Regions from separate parts of the Homo sapiens genome. Here region 2 is linked to region 1. Evidence: promoter capture Hi-C in 16 types of primary human blood cells and fetal thymus (Javierre and others, 2016). All regions are on one chromosome and are shown on one strand. Each heading gives the region's core, a stretch centred on a gene start or on the middle of the fragment in contact. The rest is flanking DNA. Distances are from core to core; before and after follow the strand shown.

The links. Contacts are between HindIII fragments. The CHiCAGO score rates a contact against its expected background, and 5 or more counts as called.
Region 2: a fragment that was not itself captured here is called in contact with the fragment with the promoter of ETS2 in region 1 in 1 of 17 cell types (monocytes); the score reaches 5.4 in monocytes.

The regions. Positions count from the first base shown.
Region 1 is chr21:38,802,114-38,809,560 of GRCh38, reverse strand. It overlaps ETS2 (ETS proto-oncogene 2, transcription factor), which reads right to left and starts at 3,632. Exons shown (of 10, transcript NM_005239.6): 1 at 3,441-3,632. RefSeq lists silencers at 2,910-3,009, 3,030-3,129, 3,240-3,529, 3,720-3,789, 3,810-4,139 and enhancers at 4,250-4,409, 4,420-4,479, 4,660-4,799, 4,333-4,833. The HindIII fragment of the contact is 4,522 bases long and covers 2,461-6,982 here.
Region 2 is chr21:38,867,694-38,875,140 of GRCh38, reverse strand. No RefSeq gene overlaps it. Among named protein-coding and RNA genes, the nearest start is that of ETS2, 65 kb to the right of the region's middle. The HindIII fragment of the contact is 1,410 bases long and covers 1,889-3,298 here.

The DNA.
Region 1 (7,447 bases), core at 2,383-4,882:
CAGGAAAGGAGTCCAGGAAGCCCCCTCTCTTCCCTTCCACTCTCCAGGCTGTAAGAAAGCACACACCCAGGGAAGGGATCAAAGGGAGAACTGAAGACCAAACCCCCTTACATGGTCCCAGATCTTCCTGCTTTGAATACAGAGCTCAAAATATTTCTGCTTTGTGTGTTGCTTGGCTGTGCACTTCTTCAAGAGGAACTGATTCCAAGCACGGATCTGCCTTACTTCCTCTGACTGAGTCTTAATCTTCTACTAGGCCTGGGCTAAGCAATATGGTACCCACTTGCCATGTGTGGCTACAGAGCTCTCAACCAGTGGCTAGTACAAATCCACACATACACACTAGCTCTCAAAGACTTAGTGGAAAAAAGAAAAAAGCTCAATAATTTTTATACATACATAATATTTCGAATATATTAGGTTAATTTGAAATACACTGAAATCAATTTCACCGGCTTTATTGTTTTTAACATGGCTATTACAATGAGGCTTGTAATTGGACAATGACATAATAGGCTGAAAATTTATTTGGAGCTCTAAAATGTAATTGTTCAGCCAGGTAAGTTACATATCAGTAAGAAAGATACTTAGATAATAGAGTAACTAAAACTCATTTTCAGAGACCTTGGGTTAGCACCGATGAATGGCCTTCACCTCTAGGGTGATTCCTTGCCCTCCCAGGTTCATGGCTATGGAACTGAAGGCTGGTGGCAAAGCTCTAAGCCTAGCTCCATGGCCTCCACTGGGTGCTCTTACCTGTTTACAACTGAGAACTTTTTAAGTAATTCAGACAACATTCAACTGATAGAACTTACTGGATGTGGCGAAATAACAAAGGCTCACCGAACTATTTAATTTGCATTTATTTTCTTGTTTTCTCTTTATGATCAACATTATGGCTAAACCAGACCTTCCAAGAACCCTGCTACCCAACACACACCCAACACACACACACACACACACACACACATACACACACACCCCTCTTGGCTAAAAGGCAGCAGGTGAGGCCAGAGGCATCAGAAAATTCTGTTAAAACACTCGGAGTGCAGGTAATGATCATGGTAGCCAACAAAGGCTGGTCAGCACTGGCAATAAATAATAGTCCTATGAGAGGACAGAGAGGGGCAGCAGTCTTGGGTCCAAAGTGGCCACATTCACTCAGAATCTCCACTTGGTGGATTATGCCACTTATATTCACTCAACAATCAATAGTCTCTCCTATTGATGGCTGCCATTGCCAGAATGCCTAGTTACTAAGAGCTAAGCCCCGTGCTGGGGGACCATCCACTCCTACCTAATTGAATCTTCCTGCATCCCTGAGAGGCAGACGTCATACAGTGAAGCAACGGAGGCCCAGCAACATGGACAATCTGCCCAGGATCCACATAGCTACCAGAGGGGCCACCGCAGGGCAAAGTGGAGATCAAACCCCAGTTGAGTATGGTCCTAAATCCTGAGTCCTCCACACAGTCCTCTGTGCCGGGAGAACATGAATGATGAGGAATGGACCCTTCCCACCCATCCTGATATTATCAGATCAGGCCCTTCTCACTACTCCTTCCAATGTGAAATGCTCCTTCCTCTAGAGCTTTATGTCATTTCTCTGCATGAAATAAGTCCTGGTAGCTGCTGATTAAAGAAATAAACAAGCCTCAAACAGAAGGCCAAAATCATAGACATCTTGGGTGTTGCCAGTTATCCATCCAGAGCCGGATGGGTCAGCTCTTTTTCTTCCTTAGGCTTGCAGACTGCTTGCTGACTTGATTCTGTTTTTCAGCTTCTCTGAGATGGACAGAGAATGAATGTGGAAGGCAGTGGAAAAGCTCTCCCCAGCTTTTGTGTACAAATACCAGGAGAAAAGGCAGCCTACCACTCCCACATAAAGAGCTGTAATTACTAGCTACAGAATAGAATTCTTTTGTTGTCCAGCTTTTAATGAGTTTTGTAAAAACCATGCAGAATTAAAGTGCTCTACTAAATGGTTTCAGGCAGACACACAACTAATCAAATTTAAGCTTGCTTATTTTACTCAACAGGGCTTGTTAGATGGCAGACAAGCCAAGTTTTTCCACATAAATCAATTTCAAGTTTGGTGTTGCTGATGGATCGCTGCTTTTAAACCAAAAAAAAAAAAAAAAAAGGATAAAGAGCAGAAATGTAACAGCTGAGAATGGTTACATTTAAAAACAAGGAGAATTTGCCTGACAACAGTACCCTTATTGGAACAAGTAATCACTTATGTAAGATTATTTAGATAAATTTGAAAACAAACAAAAAAAAGAAACAACACAACCTTGTAACACACATTTGAAGGTAGTTTGCTTTTTTCGCTTTGAAAGCGATCAGTTTAGAGAGATGAATGACTAATCCCAGAAATGAGTATCTGAGCATTTCCCTGCGGATGGTCGGTGCTAACATTTACTGTGCTGCGCTACTACTCAGAATTTTAATAAAGCTTAACGTGGAGATTTATCTCTCTGATTGGTGGTGGTGTGGGCAGGCAGATAACGCACAGGCGCTTCCATTGTATGGAACAAATATAATCTCTTACTGGCGAATTAAAATAAATTACTCCTGTCTCCAAAGGGGACTGCTCATTTCTTTACTTTCTAAATAACTAGCGCGTCAACTACTGTTTTAGGCTACCCTGAAATTGTGTACAGGCTAACATAAAAGGTCTCCTGCCGTAAAAAATAAAATAGGATAACACACACGCAACCCAAACACACACAAGCAAACACTCAGTTACCTCTTCATTCAAATGCTGTAGGAACGAGAAAATAAAGGCAGCCCAGCGCAACCAGATCTCATTTCCGACAGGTTCCCCACGCTCTCCTCGCACGACCGAGGGGTCCCCAGCCCGGGCCCTGGACGCGGCGAGCAGGTGACCATGGCACCCCGCGCCCCGCAGGTTCCCGCGGTGCCGCAGCCTTCAGGTGTCTTGGGCGCCCCAGATCCTCCGGGCCCGGCGCCGCTCCAGGAAGTCACCCTCAAAGCCGGGGCGCCAGGCCACCTCGGACACGCTCTCCTGTGCCCCCACTCCCGTTCGCGAAATCATGTTCGCCGGGACATCCACTGGGCAGGACCCCCTACCAGGCCTGCGTTTCCTTTTAAAAACAAAAGCGAGCGAAACAAGCCAGCGCGCCCTGGCCGCGCCCGCCGCTAGGCGACCCCGAAGACAGCGGCCCTAGCACGCAGGAACCCCCCGGCCGACCCCGCCAGCCCCGGAGGCCACTCCATAACCGGAAAACGAGCCGGCGCGGAACTCAGACGCGCGCCCCTAGAGTCCTCGCAGCAGCCGCCACCCCCACCTGCACCCCCGGCAGCGCCCCGAGATCTGCGTGTCAGTGCCCCCCGCGACCCCCGCCCAGGCCCCGGGTGACCCTCCATGGGACTGGAGCCGCGCGCCGGGCGCTCTCTGCGGGCCCAGCTCTTACCCTGCCGCTGCGGGCAGGGCCGGCGCTTGGTCGGGACGGTGGCTGCTCGGCGCCCGCGGCTGCTCGGTGCGCGCCGGGCGAGGGCGAGGGCGCCGGCCAGAGACGATCAGGGAGGCCGGACGCTGGCCGGGCGGCTCCGGGAGCTCTGAGCTGGAGCGACACCGCACTCGTCAGTCTCTGGAGGAAGTAACCGGGCCGTCCCCCACGCGGCGCGCTCTTCAGGAGCGGGAGGAGGAGGGAGGAGGGAGGAGGAAGGAGGGACGGCCGAGTGGAGGGGAGGGGAGGAAACGAGGGAGGAGAGAAGAGAGAGGGGAGGGAAGGGGAGGAGAGAGAAGAGGAGGGGAAGGGAGGTAGGCAGGATGGGGAGAAGCGGGAGGAGAGGGAAGGGGGCAGCAGGAGGGTTGGGGGAGCGGAGGGAGAGGAGAGGGAACGCACGAGGGGAGAGAAGAGGAGGGCGGAGGCGGCGAGGGAGCGCGGGGCGGGGCTGACACCTTCCGGCCCAACCTTCCCTCCGCCTCCTGCTGTCACTCGGCTGGGTCCCTCGCCGGCTGGCCCTGAGGCCCCGGGAGCAGGGCCTCGGCCCCACGTGCGCGCGAGTGTGCGCCCTGGGAGCCGGGCGGAGACTTTCCGTGGAGCGCTCGGCGTCCTCTCTGGGGCCAAGGCCCTAACGCCAAACCTGCCTTTGGAATTCCGCAGCGACGGAGCAGTGGTGCTGGTGGCACCGAAGGGCAGCCGGGCTTGGGTAATAAGGCCCTGAAATTGAGCCGACCCCATTCTTGAACCTCTGAATGGGCTTAGGACTAATGATCATTCTATCACAAAAAGGCTCCAAATGAGGCGCTTCCTGTAGAAACCGGGCCCTGGCTGTGTCCCCGAGTCGTGGTGCTGATCGCGCTGCTCCCGGGAAGCCCCGATCCCGCAGGCTCCGCGGGAGTGGCGCCCTCTGGAGCTGAGCGGTGCCCAGATAGCGACCCGCCTTGGCCGCGCTTCAATCTGGGCTGGGCACTCCACGCACATCATCGTCACTCTCGGAGGACTTGCGGCTCCCACTTTACACAGGTGGGAACTGAACCTTAGGATGAATAACCTGCCACGTCAGATTGATGAGAAATTCAAGGTGGAAACCTGAGTTTATCTGACTCCGAAACCCTGGTCAAAACCACCCCCTACACTGTGGTTTCCGTTTTTATCAGAAGGTGCTTGAGTCCATGGCTGTTTGGACTCAGGTCACATGCTCAATATTTTGCAGGAAAGTTTAGATTCCTGAAGTTGTGGATGAAATAGGAAACCCCAGCTTAGGCGAGGCCACGGGGCTGAAAGCTGCTCACATCTCAAGAACTGCGGCACCACCGGGAAGGGAGAGGAATGGCCCAGCTTCTCTGTGACTCAGGGTTCTAGGTTTCCATGGTGACTCTAGGTCTAGAGTTATCCGGATAATTGAGATATCGGTGCACCTTAATGTTTCTGGGTCCCCGAAGGTCTCCGGGTATCACCGTGGCATGAGTCACAGTCAGAATCTATACGGCTGAAACAATCACGTATAGGGGAAGTGATTATTTCTTGGAGACTGAATTGATTCTGATGGCTTCTCAGTGTATATTCAGGCCCAGATTAGAGAACACAGATAGGTCAAGAAAGAGTTCCATAAATGGAATACAGATCCATAGTAAGTTACCATGGAGACATGAGTATGTTACTATTTTTTTAAAAAACCGTAGCAGAAAATACTGACTCATCTGGGCTGCAGTTTCAGCTAATATAGGGTCTTTCTCCCTCAGGCTACTTGCACAGCCCTGAGAAGCTGGGTATAGACAGCTGCTCCCCAAAGCTCAGCTACTTCCCGAAGCTCACTTGCCCCAAGCAGACTGCCTTGTCCCACCATGCCTGCCCTCGTGTTCATGGGTGCTGAGTGCCAGGTGCTCCAGGGCTCCCTGAGTCGCTGATGGGCTCCCTGAGTGGAGCCATATTTCCTCTTTGCAGGGCTGGCACAGGCTGGGGGCTAGGAGGTGGTGCTTTGCTCATGCTGGGCTGTTTCCAACATATATGAGCAGAAAGATATCAAAAGAGGAGCACAGGAGTTTGAAGACCACCGGTTCCCGACAGTGGAACCTTCCTCTGCTCACTAACCTTGGGCCTCCTCTACAGAATAAGGGATGATTATGGAACCTACGTCCTTAAGACTATGGCAAATGACATAGAACCAAATGTGCAGAATATGTTAGAGTGTTGAGTACATGGTAGAGAAGGACTCAAAATGATCTAGCTATTAAGAATCTTTTTCCAAGCTCTCCTCAGGGAGGATTTTATAGAAAACATTTTGAAAAAACTATCATATACACGAAAAAAAAAAAAAAAGTCCTGCCCCTCGCGGGTTTAAATGTGTGAAAGCCTTGGGAAAGGGATCCCGGCCGGAAGACCAAATGGCAGAGCTAAGACGGCAGGGAGGCTGTGGGAAGAGGAAGCTGGGCCTGTGTGCTGGGGTCATCGTAAGCCTAAGCTCCTGCCTCCCACCCAGGTCCCTGGTCCTCCCTATTTCCCCTTCCAAAGAGTCTGAGGCTGCCCCAAGCAGCCCCCTTGCCCTGGGTCCTGCCCTGTAGCTGATCCACCTCTGCACGAGGGCAGTCACATGTTCATAATAAAATGGCTTATCCTAGTTCTGGGGCAATATCAGGGTTCCTTACATTTTTGTCCTTAATACTAGTTGGCTTGCCAGTTACTCAGCAGAATTAAAAAGCAGTCTGGCTGAAGCCAGTGATTATTCATTGACTGTTATCGTGCGATTCACAGGGAACAATGAGCTTTACAGTAAATTAAACCTAATAAATAAAAGTATAGCCCTTGTGCTTGGAGATCAAAAGTCGAGGGTGTTGGAAGGAAATTAAAAGTCAGAAGGTGCACAGGGTGGAGTGATCAGATGCGCTATGGCAGACTGAGTTATGAGCAATGTTAACACTTTCCCCTTAAGAAAGAGGGACATTCACAGAAGAGAGGAGGAAAAGGGATATTACAGTAGAATATATGTGTTACGAACATGAAATATCTAGAGAGTAAAATGCAGAAAAAGAATTCTTTAGAATCCAGACATAATTATGAGAAATGATTAGCTAGCTTACGAAGTCATCCTTTGAAAAAAAACACACACAAAAACGTCTCCTTAGAAACATGTCTGTATTTACCTTAAAATCCAAATCAGTAGTCAACAGGCAGTTTGTGGTGGTTTCCAGTTGCAAGTTAAACAGACGTCATTTGGTCCGAAGTGCATCATTCATTCACTTAGCAAACACAGAGTCAGATGCTGAGAAGACAAATATGATTAAGGCTTAGTTAGTTCCCGCCCTCAAGAAGTAAAAGTGAAGTGCACAGTTCAGTTAAAATCACATGCACAGTGAGACTTTGGTAAGGAGTGGAGGAAGAAAAGAATGAACCTAGAGATAGAAATCATTTCCTCATGTGTAAGCTGCCGCCTGCATCTGGCCTGCTGGGGTGTCTGGCAGTGGTGGCTATTTCACTGATATATGTTGGGGTCAAGGACTTGATAAGCTTAACCCACACTTCCGCCCACCTCCGAATCCAACCAACCTTGCCCATTTGCAGGCTGGCCCAGCTACCAAGAATCCTAGGCAGATGTGGGGCCGTGGAGCTGCCTCCTGCTCCATCAGGGTGGACCCAGATTATGCAAGAGTTGGCCAGTGTCTAGTCTTTTCTGTGAGATTCCTTGGAATGGCAGATAGGGTATTCTGCTGGTGGTCAAAAACGTTGCTAATGCTCCTTTCTAATTCCTTCTGCTCCTTGTCAGCCTCCTTTGTCCCTTGCACTCCCTGTGGGCATGAAGACATGGTTACCCAGCTAGGGCTACCGTCTTCACCTCTGAAGGGCAGCCTGTGGGCCCAGACTGCCTGGGGTCAAATCCCGCCCAGCCATTCCCTAGCAGGCCACCTGTGGGCCCCTCGGGGCCTCCCTCTGTTAATGTCTCCCAAGCACTTAGAACAGTGTCTGGCGTGTCATTA
Region 2 (7,447 bases), core at 1,344-3,843, 67 kb before region 1:
AGGACAGGGCTGTCTTTCAAGGAGGGTGACGATCACATGAGTCCCAGTTGAAGGAGGAGACTTGATTTGTTATTCTAGCAATGGGTAGAAGACTGGCTGGAGGCTGACTCAACATACAACAGCTCACACAGCTTTCTTGGGGCTTAGTCTTCACTGGTAAGGCCAGAGTTCTCACTGGACTTTTATGTCAACTGATGGCAAGGACTTTAAGATTTAGTGTGGTCACTAATGTATTATGGAACCTGAAGAACTGGGTGAGGGCCTTGCTCTGAAAACTGCACCTGGAGACTTCACCTAGGGCATTTTCTATGGGAGTATTTAGGTGGAACAGTCTAGTCTATGCCTAGGCAGTCCTGGGCACTCTTGCAAGTCTCAAATTTCACAACCACTGTTCCCCTTTTTCTCCTCCAGAGAGTTAACTGAGATAGCTAGGTGCTGACTTTGCCAAGGGAAAAAATGTATTTTTTTAATTCGCAGGCAATTTTATTTTATTTTATTTTTTATTTTTTATTTTTTTTTTGAGACGGAGTCTCGCTGTCGCCCAGGCTGGAGTGCAGTGGCGCAATCTCGGCTCACTGCAGGCTCCGCCCCCTGGGGTTCACGCCATTCTCCTGCCTCAGCCTCCCGAGTAGCTGGGACTACAGGCGCCCGCCACCTCGCCCGGCTAATTTTTTGTATTTTTAGTAGAGACGGGGTTTCACCGTGTTAGCCAGGATGGTCTCGATCTCCTGACCTCGTGATCCGCCCGCCTCGGCCTCCCAAAGTGCTGGGATTACAGGCGTGAGCCACCGCGCCCGGCCCCCAGGCAATTTTAATAATAAATCTTAATAGATGGGGTAAGAGCTGCCTTCATCCCATACAGAGAATACAATGGTGCTAGACTAAGTAGAGATTTTATTTCAGCTTAAAGATTCTGTTTGATGTCTGAAATTACATGTTTAGGCGGCATGGGGAACAGGACTGTTCTTTAGCATCAGTTTCACAATTACTTTAATCTACTAGGTTTCATTCACCTTATAATTCTGAAATTTCATCAGCAGTGGGAACAGAAAAGGATATTCACATGCCAGCCCCAAATTGGCTGTGATTGAAACTAATGATACAATTACAGCAATGAGTGTTTGCAACGGTTGATGATCAGGTACTGGTGTGGGATGAAATAGCAGATAAGTGGTGCTTGTGGGTGATGTGAGTCTCCATTGATCTGTTGAATTAGGTGCCTCTTCCTCTGGCATCACTGACAATTCTTGGTGGGGCCCGAAGATGGGGGTGGGTTACACTCTGGGTCAATTTCTTCTCCTCTCTCTGATGTGCTGAGGCCCATGGATTCCGTGAACAAGTGTGGGCTCTGTTTGTTCAGCCCTTGAAAAAGCTCAAGGGAAGATGTCTCCTAGGCAGTGGTAGCTCCTTCCAATTTCTGTGGTCGGAGGTTCTCCCTGCATATGGGAGCCCAGAGCCCGAGGCTCTGGATCTTCTCCCAGGAGAAGCCTGCAGTGGGCCTGATGGGCCATGGCCAAGGCTGAGCCTTCAGCTCTTTGTCCCTGCTGTGTTCCCTGAGAAGGCTTGGAAGTAGGGCAAAAGCCATGCACTCCTCTACAGCCCCACAGAGGGAGTATCAGGACAATGGAAAGGGAGTGATTCCCCCAGAGGAAGAATGCCTTGTGGACTCACACAGAGGAAGTTTGTTATGACTTTGATACTTGGAAGGCATGAGCCCAGTTGTAGCTGTGAGCTGTCTGACCTTATTTGTTGCGATGGACTCCACTGTGACTCTGGACAGAGCATTCTATTGAAGACAGTTTGCATATCAGCCGGATTATTATAAAATATACCAATAAGATTCTTCCTCCTGAAAGTGGCAGAAACTCAGATCAAACTGCCTTAAGCTTCTAAGGGGACTCATTGACTTGGGTAATTGAGCGCATTAGCGTATGGCGCTTTATGGATAGCTGGATCCAGAGTCACAGATGCTATCAGGATTCTTTCTCTTTCTTTTAGCTCTACTACTTTCTCTGCAATAGGTTAGTTCTCCAAAAGGAACAAGACGGCCACTGGAGCCCCAGGATTACAGGATCCTTTGTGTTTGGGATCTTATGGAATCCTGGACCTGCTTGGGTCACGTGCCCACTTCTGTGCTGAGGAGTTGGAAGTCATTTTCAGGTTGAGGAGGGCATCCCCAGAAAGCCAGAGAAGGGGGCAGAAATGCAGGTGAGCTCAACACCAGGCCTCCGCTACCGAATGTCAGGACACCAGCCTTCCTGAAGGGACATGTTAGGTGGACACCCAGTGAGAACCTATGATAGCAACCAGCAGCAGTTGGAGGAGGGCTGGGTGCGGCAGCTCACGCCTGTAATACCAGCACTTTGGGAGGCCGAGGTAGGCGGGTCACTTGAGCCCGGGAGTTTGAGAACAGCCTGGGCAACATAGTGAGACCACATCTCTACTAAAAAAATAAAGAAAAATTAGCTGGGTGTGATGGTGTGTATTCATCATCACTGCTATGAAGAACTCCTGAGACTGGGTAATTTATGAAGAAAAGAGGTTTAATTAACTCAAAGTTCCATAGGCTGTACAGGAAAGATGACTGAGAGGCTTCAGGAAACTTACAATCATGACAGAAGGTGAAGGAGAAGCAAGGACATTCCTCACAAGGTGGCAGGAGAGAGGGGGTGGGGGGAAGTGCCACACACTTTTAAGCCATCAGATCTCATGAGAACTCACTCACTATCTCGAAAATAGCAACGGAGAAATCTGCCCCCATGATCCAATCACCTCCCACCAGGCCCTTCCCCTAACACTGGGAATTACAATGCAACATGAGATTTGGGTGGGGACACAGAGACAAACCACACCACAGTGCATGCCTGTAGTCCCAGCTACTTTGGAGGCTGAGGCAGGAGGATTGTTTGAGCCTGGGAGTTCAAGGCTGCATTGCATTCCAGTATCCTGGGTGACAGAGCGAGATTGTATCTCAAAAGAAAAGAAAAAGAAAAAGAAAAAGTTGGAGGAAAAAAAAATTTAATAGCAGAAAAAATAGGAGTCTTCATACTGACAGCCTCACAACTCAGAGAACTTGAAAAATGTTATGTAGACAATGGCAATAAAGGGCTGACACGTCCCTGTGCACTGGTGAACACAGAACCTTCTTGAGGCTGTGCCCTTCAGCTTCGTTTGGAATTTGACATTTTAAAAAACACTCCACCCACAGGTTTCCTTTGAGAGACTAGAGTGTCTTTGAACTTAATATTCAGGTAAATAAAAAGACCACTTGGAAGAAAATTATCTCCTCTGAAAAGCTTGTCACTTAACACTTGTTTATTAGGAGAACTACAAAAAAGTCAGCAAAATGGCAGAATTCTTCTCTGACATTTAAAGCTTTCCATGTGGTTTGCCACTGAGAACAAGGTGTATGTTCTTTTCAATTGCCTAAATCTTGCTGCCCCAGCTGGGAACTTTGCTGCAGAATCCAGAGAAGTGACTCTTCAGGGTCTGAGAATGAACTTGGATGGAAAAAAATACGTTTTTATTTTTACTAATTTCCAACAGATATCAAGCATTTTATTCAACTATGGAATGGAAGCAACAGATTACAGCAGCATTAACAAGACCTGGGATACCATCACCAATCAAAATCATGGATATTTCATAGCACAAGAACGTTGTTTCAGAATCTCAAAGTACTCCTCCTACTCAACATGACTTTGAAATTGCAATAGTTGTTAGAACGGTCACTGCAGTTTGATATATGATGTGTTTACAAAGAGGCACATATATTGCTCTTTCAGAATTATAACTCTGTATGCATTTCAATGTAATTGGTTTCCTTTGTCATCTTCTGAATTTTATGTATTTAAAAATATTATTCTGATGTTAATACACAACAAAGAAAGGATAGAATTTTCAATAAATGGTGTTGGGGAAATTGGATATCCATATACAAAAAATAAAAATAAAATTGGATTCTTATCTTAAACCCTACACAAAAATTAACTCAAAATGGATTAAAGACATAGACATAAGACCTGAAACTTTAAAATTACTAGAAGAAAACATAGGGGATGACACTGGTCTGGGCAATAACTTTTTGGATATGACACTAAAAGTACAAGCAACAAAAGCAAAAATAGACAAACACAATTACATCAAGCTAAAAAAGCTTTCACACAGTAAAGCAAGCAATCAACAGAGTAAAGAGACTCTGTTGCAACCTACAGATGCAACTTACAGAATGCAAGAATGTATCTGTCAACCATACAGCTGAGAAGGATTTAATATCCAAAATATACAAGGAACTCAGCTCAATAGCAAAAACAAAAAACAACAACAAACCAAAACCAACTCACATATAACTCAGCTAACAATGGGCAAAAGATCTGAATAAATATTTCTCAAAGGAAGATATACGAATTACCAATGGGAATATGAAAAGATGCTCTACACCACTAATCATCAGGAAAATGCAAATTAAAACCACAATGAGATACCACCTCACACCTGCTAGAATATCTATTATCAAAAAGATAAGTGATAACAAACGTTGGTAAGGCCATGTAGAAAATGGAACCCTTGTACACTGTTGATGGGAATATAGATTGCTACAATCATTATGAAAAACAGTATGGAAATTCCTCAAGATACTAAATATAGAACTACCATATGATCCAGCAATCCCACTTCTGGGCATATATTTAAAGGAAATGAAATCAGTATCTTGAAGAGGTATCTGGACTCATATGTTTATTGCAGCATTATTCACAATAGCCAAGATACGGAATCAACCTTAGTGCTTAGTGTCCATTGATGGATGAATGGATGAAGAAAATGTGATACACACACACACACAAACACACACACACATGCACGCACACACAGGGATATTATTCAGTCTTTAACAAGAAGAAGATTCTGCCATTTGCAACAACATGGGTGGACCTGGAGGACATTATGCTAAGTGAAAGCAAGCCAGACACAGAAAAACAAACACTGCACAGCATGATCTCACTCATATGTGGAATCTAAGAAGGTTGGACTCAGAAACAGAGCAGAAGGCTGGTTACCAGAGGTGGCAGTAGGGATGACAGTGGGAAATTAGGAGAGGTTGGTTAAAGGATACAGACTTTTAGGTATAAAATGAATAAGGTCCTCAGAGCTAACGTACGGCACAGTGACTGTGTTAATAATAATGTATTTTAGATTTGAAAATTGCTAAGAGAGTAGATCTTCAGTACTCTCACCACAAAAAAAGGTTGAACTATGTGAAGTGATAGATAACATTAATTAGCTTGATTGTGGTCATCATTTCACAATGGATATATGCATCAGAGCTTCATGTTGTACATCTATATTCCATTTTTATTTTTTCAATTATAACTCAGTAAACCTAGAAAAAAATAATAATATCACTCTGAAAAGTGGTCTGCAGGTTTCACTAGCTTCTGAAGGGGGCTGTGGCACTTCCTAGATGCTGGGCACTATTCTATGGTTTTCCATATATTATTAAGTGAATCCTCACAGTCACATTATGAGGTATGTATTAATAATTAAGATAAAAAAACTGAGGGTCACAGAGTAGATAAATTCCCCAAGGATAAAGCCAGTAAGTGGCATAGTTGGCACTGAAATCTAGAAATCCAAGCCCCTAAGCTTTTTGCACCTCTCCTTGGTGAGGTAACAACCTTGTCATGGTCCAGTGAAGAGGCAGCGCCCAGCCCTGTCCCAAGCCCAGTGCTTCCTTCCCCCCAGTGCTTCCTTCCCCAAGTAATGTTCACAAAGAGTCCCAAAGTGAGCAGATGTCCCAGGGCCAACTGAGGGGCCCCAAGTCACACTCAAGAGGGAACTGCTATTGCAAGAACAAAGGAAATCTGCGCAGGGTTTGCTTCCCCCAAACGCTCCTGGTAAAGTTTCCCAAACTTTTACTTTCTGTGATCACTTAATGAACATTTAACTTACCCAGAGACAAATCTCAGGTTTTTTTAAAGGTGTCATCAGAAATTTCCCAACAACAAAGAGAAAATGCAGTGTTCTAGGTTAGTAATAATAAAATCTGTTTCTTACAGTGAGAGAGGTGATATTTTCTCTTTCCCTAAAACCTCTCCATCCCTGTTGATGATAGAGAACTCAATCCAACAAGAAGTTTTCTTTCTTCATTTTTCTTTTTTTTTCAAATTGAAAAGTAAAAATTGTAAATATTTATGGTGTACAACATGATGTTTTGATATTTGTGTACATTTTGGAATGGCTAAATCAAGCTTTTTAACATATGCATTACCTCATATACTTATTTTTGGAGTGAGAACACTTAAAACTGCCTTTCTAGAAATTTTCCAATGTATAGTATATTATTATTAACTGTGGTCTCATTATGTATAATAGATCTCTTGAACTTATTCCTCCTGTTTAACTGGAATTTTGTGTCCATTGACCACCATCTCCTCAATCCTCCAACCTCTACCCTCTGGTAGCCACCATTCTATGACTTGTTTCTCTGAGCCCTACTTTTTTAGATTCCACATATAAGTGAGATTATGCAGTATTTATCCTTCTGTGTCTGGCTTATTTCACTTAGCCTAATGCCCTCCAGCTTCAGCCATGTTGTCACAAATGACAGAATTTACTTCTTTTAAAGAGCCCTCACACTCTTGCTCTCTCAAGCTACCTTGTCCTTCTGCCTTCTGCCATGGGATGCGTAGCAAAAAGGCCCTCACCAGATGCAGCCCCGTCACCTTGGACTTCCCAGCCTCCAGAACCATACGAAATAAATTTTTCTAAATAAATTAGCATGAGGGCTAATTTAAAGGTTGAATAGTATTTTCTTTATCCATTCATGCATTAATGGATACTTAAGTTGATTCCATATCTTGGCTGTTGTGAATAATGCTGCAATGAACATGAAAGTATAGATATCTCTTCAAGCTACCGGTTTTATTTCCTTTAAATATATGCCCAGAAATTAAATTGCTGGATCATATGGTAGTTCTATTTTTAATTCCTTAAGAAATCTCCATACTGTTTTCCATAATGGCTGTATTAATCTACATCCCCACCAACAGTGTACAAGGGTTCCATTTTCTACACAGCCTTGCCAACATCTGTTATCTTTCATCTTTTTGATACTAGTCATTTTAACAGATGTGAAGTGATATTAATATCTTATTGTGATATTAATTGCATTTCTCTGATTAGTGATGTTGAATATCTTTTCATATACCCATTGGCCACTCATATGTCTTTTTTGAGAAATATTTATTCAGATTCTTTGCCCATTTTAACTGATTTATATTTGTTTTTGCTTGTTTTTGTTTTTGCTATTGAGTTGTTTGAGTTTCCTGCATATTTTTGATATTAACTTCTTATCAGATGTGTGATTTGTAAATATATTCTCCCATACTATATGTTGTTTCTTCACTCTATGGTCATTTCCTTTGCCGCGTGGGAGCTTTTTTGGTTT